2 separate regions of the Homo sapiens genome follow, and region 2 is linked to region 1. The links are contacts of gene promoters, found by promoter capture Hi-C in human tissues and cell types (Jung and others, 2019). All regions are on one chromosome and are shown on one strand. The core of a region is centred on a gene start or on the middle of the fragment in contact, and the rest is flanking DNA. Distances in the headings are between cores, read along the strand shown. Region 1 holds the start of TMEM204 (transmembrane protein 204). Region 2 overlaps CRAMP1 (cramped chromatin regulator 1).

Region 1 (4,154 bases), core at 649-3,148:
GGGACTCCCTCGGAAGCCTGGAGCAGAGGCACTGCCTCAGAGACCAGCATTATCTTCAGAGCAGAAGGAGCGTCCAACCCCGAGTCTGTGAGGCTCTGCAGCAGAGACTTGGGGTGTCTGCGAGTCAAAACCTTGCTGACAGTTTCAGAGAGTCGGCCTTTGGGAGACCTTGTGTCCCTGTGCCGTGACTGTTGAGATGACCCCATGGGCTGTAAGCGCCTTCCTATTTATGCAGCCTCACACCTGCCACTCAAACCCCACGGTGCGGTGGCATCATTCTGAGCCCCTTCCTCTCCTCTGCAACCACTGAGCATCCCTGTCCCCTTCCGAGCGTCCTGGCCTCCCTGTCTCCTTTCCAGCGTCCCATCTGAAGCTCATCCCTGGGGATCCTGCTGCTGCTCTCTGCCTCAAAGACCCCAACAACCGTGAGAACAAAGCCAGAACTCACCCGTGTATTTTTAAACTTCTTGTTTATTTTACTCATGAGTAAAGAAAGAGCATTTTCATTTTTTTTTTATGTTCAGAGACAGGGTCTCTCGCTATGTAGGCTAGGTTCGTCTTGAACTCTTGGCCTCAAGCAGTCCTCCCGCCTCAGCCTCCCAAAGCGCTAGGATTACAGACGTGAACCACTGCGCCCAGCCGTAATAATTATTTTCAACCAAGGAAAAATGCCTTTCCTTGATTTGATTAATGTACCCATCTCTTAACTATGTGTAACGGCAGAGAGGCCCCCCAAATGCCTGAGATGAATTCCTGTGTAAAAGAGCTGGAGGCAGATTCTGTGCTGAGCAGGAGGAGTGTGTGGGGCCACCACTCACCAGGGAGAGGGGGCCTTGGGGCCTGGTTCCCTGGGAGACACAGTGCCCCCTCCTGCCTGCCCAGAGGCCACGCTCAGGGCAGAGCAGGGGCCAGGCCTCCCCACCCGCTCACCAGGTCCGCGCCTAACATCTCCCATGTGCCCTCGAGCCTCGGCCACGCTGAAGGCATCAGGAAAACAATTGGACTTACGTTTGACGGTGCCTCGGGACTCCTGGAAGCCGGCTGCCTCGGAGCCCCAGCCCAGCGCCTCACAGTCATGTGCGTCCACCTGGCCGGCTCTGGCCCCAGGGCTCGGCCCTCCCCGGGTCCTGTCCACCAGCCAGCAGGACCTCCACAGCCCCACGCTGCGCCTGCGCCCATCCTCCAGCGTCTGGCACACCCAGTTGGAGGTGAAGGCCGCCACGTTGTTGAGGATGAGTGAGACCAGGGCCACCAGCACGGCCGCGGCCACGAGTCTCTGCACGGTCATCGCTGACGCCGGTGCCGCCGCTTATCCGGAGAAAGCCAAGTCCCAGTCCGCGGCCGCACGTCCAGGGAGAGCCGACGCTGCTAGGGGTGGCTAGAGGACATCACCACTCATCCTCGGGGCGGCGCGGGCGGAGGCCCATGGGATGGTCCAGGTGTGCCGCCTCTCGGCCCGGCCTTATCCTCCTTCCTGCACCTGGAGCAGGGCCAGGCCTGTGCTGAAGCTGCTCGCCTCGGGGCCCATCCCAGGGAGCAGAGGGTGGGCAGCAGCAAGAACCCAGGGCCAGGAGTGCGCCGTCTTCCCGGGAAGCGGAGGCCGGCCTGTGCCGCGCGTGCCTCTTCTCGCCTGCAGCAGTGGAAAACAGAGTCACTCGGGAGGCCGGCAGCAGTGGGAGTCGAGCCCGCGCCACACTCCTTAGCACCGGCCTGCTGTGAGTGCCAGGCTCCGGGCAGGGTGGCCGGTGTGGAGCGGGTTCACAGCTCCTCTGTGCTGCCTGGGCCCCTGTGTGGATGCCTCCAGGGCAGTTGGCCGGTCCTGGAAAGCAGAGTGGCTGCTGCAGGGACGCCCGTGTGCGCAGAGCTCGCCTTCCCTGGCTCTCAGCAGAGAGGAAATGGTTGTTTTTGAGACTGTTTTTGGTGAGCTGGAAGGCGTAGCCAACCGCAACAAATAGCGGCCCTGCCGCGGCAGCCAGACACCAACAGGATGTGCTTCCTGATGGGAAAGGCCAGGAGACTTCTGAGGCCCTGCTCCAGGCCCACCTCCTGCCGCCCCTCCCCATCTTCCTGTCCCAGAGGAGAGGCCAGGGATGCCGGGTGCGGGACAGATCCCTCGTCTCGCCTGTTGCTTTTAAGCCTGGTGGCCCCCGGGGCCTGGAGGCTGGTACTGAGCGACTATTGCCTGCCCTGGGGACTTCACACCCCCCAGCCATCCAGTTGCCCCCAGGACCATAGGTACCCCCAGGACCATAGGAACCACAAGCCTCCCCCCGCCCGTGTGTTCCAGGCCTGCCCCCGCCACGGGAATGCTGCCCTCAAAAGGGGGGCAGATATCACAGGATTGCTGGGAAGGGGAGAGACCCGTGTGCCTGGAGGGAGCAAGTTCACCCAGACCTGCAGGGCCAGGGACCTGTACTTGGAGGACCTCGGGGCCAGGGACCTGTACTTGGAGGGCCTTGGGGCCAGGGACCTGTACTTGGAGGACCTCGGGGCCAGGGACCTGTACTTGGAGGACCTCGAGGCCAGGTCATTCTTAGGTGGCAAGAAGGGTAAGATTCTGGATGTGCTGGGTGGGGCTCTCAGCGGGGCCTGGGACAGAGCGAATGTCACGTGGGGCCTGGGCCACCTCTGCTATTGATGGGAACGGTCACCCCCCACAGCTGGGGACAGGACTAGGCAGGTCACCTTGTGAGTGGTCAGGCTCTCGGGCAGAGCTTATGCTGCCAGGGAGCTCAGAAGCATCTTCGTCTATTCTGCTCAGAATTATTCTGCCCAGCTGGGCAGACACCACGAGAGGGTCTCCTACTCTGTCCCATCTCCAGAGACCCGAAACCCAGCATGGGATTCCCAGCCTACCCAGGCTCCAAAGCTTCGTGAATGCAGGTGTCCCACATCCGTGCAAACTGTTCATGGGCACACGCCCAAGACAGTGCTGGGACAGAGAGTCCTGTTCCCAGCCTGTGGTAACAGCAGAGCTTTGACCGTTTCCTGTCCTTGCACTGCCCGTGCTTGGGCCCTGGCTCAGGGCGGTCCCGAGAGCTGCCACTTCCTGGGACCAGTCTCCATTCACACGTTGGCATGTGGCTCTGTATATCCACAGGTGAAGCAAGGTTCCCCACACACGCCCTGTGTCTGTTCCAGAAAGGCAGCAGCTCCGTCCTCACCAGCCCGTGGTGCGTGCTGGGTCCTGAGAAGCGTTTCTCCACTGGCTTCCTGAGGGACGTGCCTGGGGGGGATTTTCCCCGGGGATTTGTCGCAGACGTGTCCGTCAGGTTTCTCCTTTCCCCTCTTCCTTGGCTTGTGCCCAGGGAAAAGCTGCTGTTTCTATTTCTGTTCTCAGCCCCCGGAACCTGACGGGGCGTGCGGGGCACAGTGGTGCTGCCGGCCCCCACTCTCCCGGGTGGCTCGGAAGGCCCTGGGGGGATGTCCCCAGCCCTTCCTGCCTGTGCCCTGCTCCTCGGAGGTGGACGGGGGTGCAGTGTCTCAAACACTCAGTGTTCCTAAGCACACGGTGCAGAAGGGGGCCTTGAAAGGGAAGTCTCCCAAAAGTTTCCATGGGGGAAGAATTTATTTCCTCCTTAATTAACTAAACCATTAATCTTTCGGGAGTCTTCAAATGGCTAACTTCCAACAAAAAGCCAATGCTGGGTTTCAGAGCCCAGAGGACACGTTTGATTGTCTCAGCGGCCCGCTCTGGTCCTTTCCTCAGGTTGAGTGGGGAGGAGGCCACGGCCAGACTCCTACACAGCGGCAGCACCCCCAGAAGTCCTGGTTCGCAGAGGCCAGCATCGGCCTCCACTCTCCTGGCACTTCTGGGGTGCTCCAGGTCCCTGTGCCCTCAGCTGTCACGCCGCTTCTAACCCTGCGCGCTATGGCAGGCTGGGCGCGGGAGGGCGGAAGGCCTGGGAGCAGCATGTAAGTTAAGAGCGACCCTCCTGGGAGGATCTGTGGCTCTCGGGGGGTGACTCCCAGTAAGGGGACTCGCAGCTGGGCGGTGGGCTTCCCCCACAGTGCATCACACCCTCCTGCTCTCCCTGTTGCTTGGGGTCTTGGTCACGGTGGAGTCCCACTGCCCCCTCCCACATATGTGCCTGCGGCTCCCATATACCCAGCAGAGCGGGAGCCCTAGCACAGAACAGGGACACGGAGGGAGG
Region 2 (4,267 bases), core at 1,537-4,036, 100 kb before region 1:
ACTCTGAGCACTAAAGCCCAAAGGTGACAAAGGACAGGAGGAGCCGTGGGCAACCCCACAGTCAGCGTACTCACAGCCCCCAATCTTCTTGCGCAGCTCGCCATAGCAGATCAGGCCATACAGTTCCTGGGATGACTTCTTCAGGCCTCGAGAGAACACTGAGAAACAGAAGAGAAGGCGGCTTTAGAGAGGGGAACAGGAGGCGCTGCCTGGCTTGGGTGTGAGAGCCACACCAGGCTCACGTGGTTTCTTGGATCTCCTCCCTGTACCTTTGTCATGCAAGCTGTCAACCACAGGGGACACTGGGCAGAGTGTATAGAACACGGTGCTGTGTCTGCGATTTTCAAAATAAAAAGTTAAACCAAAGTGGGGCGTTAGAAATTTACCCCAATAGGCAGAGGAAATGTCCCCTGGAGGAGAAAACACAACACTCAGAACAGCTGGTACTCGTGAAGGTGGCAGATGTGGCCAGCACTAAACCTGTCATCCATCTCTGCACACAGGTGAGGCCAGCAGCCCTGAAACCTGGATGCTGCCTTCCTGCCTCACCTGTGCCCTCCCAGGACAGTGGATCTGCATAGCCCGGGCCCAGGCGGGAGGAGGAGCCAAGGACAGGTGCTCACCCCTGCCTGAGGCCCATTCTCCTTCCTCAGTAAGAGGCCCTGTTTTTTTTTTTTTTCTTTTCTTGGAGACAGGGTCTCACTCTCTCGCCCAGACTGGAGTGCAGTGGCATGATCTCGGCTCACCGCAACCTCTGCCTCCCAGGCTCAAGAGATTCTCCTGCCTCAGCCTCCCAAGTAGCTGAGATTACAGGTGCACACCATTATGGCCTGGCTAATTTTTGTATTTTTAGTAGAGACAGGGTTTCACCATGTGGGCCAGGCTGGTCTCGAACTCCTGACCTCAAATGATCTACCTGTCTCAACCTCCCAAAGTGCTGGGATTACAGGCATGAGCCACCGTGCCCAGCCAAGGCCCCTGTTTTATTTGGGAGGCAAACAGGCTGAGACATGGACAGCTGGTCATGGCTACACCACTGGAAGTAGTGGAGACTTCCAGAAGCCTCCTTAAAGAGCCTGATTTGGGCAGGAGGGTTCCCCTTTTCCCACCCCTCTTTCCTCAAGAGCCACTGCCTGGAGCTGTCACCAAGGACAGCCAAGCACAAGAATGGGAGGCACCTGGGTCCTGCCTGCCCTGGGCGCCAGCCTCTAGGCGTCTCTGCCACGAGACAGTGAATTCTGAGGCGCTTGGGCCACTGCTATTTTGCATTTTGTTACTGTATTACACCAGACCTAATCCTGCTAGGGAAACCAAGTGACAACACAGTCCAGGCCCCTTTGGGTCACTTCACAGAGCAGGGGTGAAGGCCATTTGTCCCCTCTACTCTCACAATTGTCCTCTCTAGTTCTCTCCTCAGAGACCTGTTCTCAAGGCCCTAAGACTGGTAAATGGAGAAGCAGGCTTTCAAGATATGAGGAGGATTCTGGACCATGGGTCTCGGACACGGCTAAGCACAGGCCAACTGCTCTCAAAGGCTCTTCTGAGAGAAAGACCTAAGACCTAAGGGCTCATCAGACTTTCTTTTTTTCTTTCTTTCTTTTTTTTTTTTTGAGACAGAGTTTCGCTCTTGTTGCCCAGGCTGGAGTGCGGTGACGCGATCTCAGCTCACTGCAACCTCCGCCTCCCAGGTTCAAGGGATTCTCCTGCCTCAGCCTCCCAAGTAGCTGGGATTACAGGCATGCGCCACCACGCCCTGCTAATGTTTGTATTTTTAGTAGAGACGGGGTTTCACCACGTTAGTCAGGCTGGTCTCAAACTCTTGACCTCAGGTGATCCGCCCACCTCGGCCTCCCAAAATGTTGGGATTACAGGCGTGAGCCACCACGCCTGGCCTCATCAGACTTTCTTAAAGGAGCCCATGACTCGGAAAGCTTTAAGATCCACTATTCAGTAGACAAGCAAAATGTGGCCATCCACCCAAAGGAAAATAATCCAGCCATACAAAGGACTGGCACACGCTACAACACAGACAAACCCTGAAACCTGACGCTGAGTGAAGGAAACCAGGCACAGAAGGACACATAGCACGTGATCCCATTTCTATGAAACATCCAGAGTAGAACGATCCATAGAGACAGGAGGTAGTAAACTGAGGGCTCCCAGCACCGGGGCACAGGGTTTCCTCCTGGGCAATGGACATATTCTGCAACTAGAGAGTGGCAATGGCTGCATAACCTTGTAAGTACATTAAGAACCACTAAGTTGTATGCTTTAAAAGGGTGAATAATATCCCCATTTCTAAAATATATATTTTAAAGTCCACTATTTGAAATGGCAAAAAGAAAAAAACCCACAACCCAGAAACAAGAAAGTAGCACCAAGAGCAAGACACTGCAGACAAGGGACCCCAGGGGAGGTGGGACCCTGGGACGAAGCAGGGCTTCCGGGAGGTGTCCCTGATGCCCCGCCTGGCCCCACGGCCTCCTAGGTGGCACCTCATGTTTTATTACACACTCAGGGACAGGAACCAAGCTCACCTCATCCAACTTTGAGTTCGTGAAGCAAAATCTCCACTGAGCAATGGACAGCAGCAAGGAAACGCAGATGTGCATGGAAACCACGGGAGATTAGTAAGACGAACACACACGCAAGGCCCCCAAGCTGGGGGCGGAGTCAGTCCCTTCCACGCTCGCTTGCCACCACTCTGTGTCTCACGCCACAAGATGAGTCAGACAAACCCATGATAAAGTGCACACGGTGTGCTCTTCAAAACTCCAAAGCACAGGCCAGGCGTGGTGGCTCACGCCTGTAATCCTTGCACTTTGGGAGGCCGAGGCAGGTGGATTTCCTGAGCTCAGGAGTTCAAGACCAGCTTGGCAACATAGTGAAACCTCATCTCTCCTAAAAAATATAAAATTAGCTGGGTGTGGTGGTGCACACCTGTAATCCCAGCTACTCGGGAGGCTGAGGCATGAGAATCGCTTGAAACTGGGAGATGGAGGTTACAGTGAGCTGAGAGTGCGCCATGGCACTCTAGCCTGGGCAACAGAGCAAGACTCTGGCTCAAAAAACAAAACAAAACAAAACTCCAAAGCACGCCAAAAATACATGTAACGTGAAAAAGTTGCCACTCTGTTTGATGCGCAATGACAGTCCATGGGGCCAGTCACTTCGCAGTGTCCTAGTGGCCTCCAGCCTCATGCTCCTGTTGGGCAAGTCAGCATCGGGTGCCCCAATGCCGCTGCCCGCTGGCACGGAGGCAGACAGCCCTGCTGAAGAGACAGTCAGGGCCATCAGAGAACCCGGGAGAACACGGGAGAACGGTGAGCTCAACAGGAAGAAGGCACATCATGTGGGGTCACACCAAAGATGCACGAACAGGAGACACCAAGGCTGTAGGAGCCTGCTGTGCCAGGTCAGGAAGAGAGGGAAGCACAGGGGCCCACACGGAGAAGGGAAAAGGACCTGTGTTGGGTGTGACCCCCCACCGAGAGGTGTGAGGGAGCATTTACCCTTCACCCTAGATGGACAGAAGGGCCAAAGAGGAATGAGGCCTCCTCGCACCAGCAAGTTTAGGATTAGGAGGTTGTTTAACAGGGAAAGGTGACACAATTAGAAAAGAAATGTTTGCTTTGACTGCCTTCTGAAATTGACATGGGAGAGAGCCTGGGTTGGCAAGTAGAATGTGCATTTGAACCTCAGAAGAGGAGATAAGTCTACGCCAGGAGCCTGAGGGTCCAAAGACGCTTCCCACCCTGCCCGCAGATGGTTCAAGCAAAGCACACTAGACCGAAGCTCCTGGAATCCCATCCCTCTCTCTATACCTCATCTACTAAACAGCTGCCCAGTCCCCTCCGCTGCTGGCCAGCTTCCCCCATAGAGAGCTTTTCAAGACCAGCCACAGTGGATGGCAGATCTGCTCTCATGGACTGACTTTCTTTCTTTTTTTTTTTTTGAGACGGAGTCTTGCTCTGTGGCCAAGCTGGAGTGCAGTGGTGCAATTCTCCTGCCTCAGCCTCCCGAGTAGCTGGGAGTACAGGTGTGCACCACCATGCCCAGCTAATTTTTGTATTTTTAGTAGAGATGCGGTTTCACCATGTTGGCCAGGATGGTCTTGATCTCTTGACCTCGTGATCCGCCCGCCTCTGCCTCCCAAAGTGCTGATTACAGGCATGAGCCACCGCGCGCAGCCTGGACTGTCTTTCAAAAAGGCACTAATGAACGATGCAAAGGACAGACGACACAGGAAGAGGCCGACAATGAAAAG

The links. Contacts are between HindIII fragments. The study calls those that stand out against the background at their distance.
Region 2: a fragment that was not itself captured here is called in contact with the fragment with the promoter of TMEM204 in region 1 in 4 of the 25 tissues and cell types used here (dorsolateral prefrontal cortex, lymphoblastoid cells, mesenchymal stem cells and 1 more).

What each region holds. Positions count from the first base shown.
Region 1 is chr16:1,531,410-1,535,563 of GRCh38, reverse strand. It overlaps TMEM204 (transmembrane protein 204), which reads right to left and starts at 1,898. Exons shown (of 3, transcript NM_024600.6): 1 at 1,009-1,898. The coding sequence starts at 1,288. All of the region lies in intron 19 of IFT140 (intraflagellar transport 140), which reads left to right. RefSeq lists enhancers at 1,165-1,868, 1,869-2,572. The HindIII fragment of the contact is 11,677 bases long and covers 1,287-4,154 here.
Region 2 is chr16:1,633,715-1,637,981 of GRCh38, reverse strand. CRAMP1 (cramped chromatin regulator 1) reads right to left here. Exons shown (of 21, transcript NM_020825.4): 5 at 75-158. Among named protein-coding and RNA genes, the nearest start is that of CRAMP1, 23 kb to the right of the region's middle. The HindIII fragment of the contact is 4,859 bases long and covers 357-4,267 here.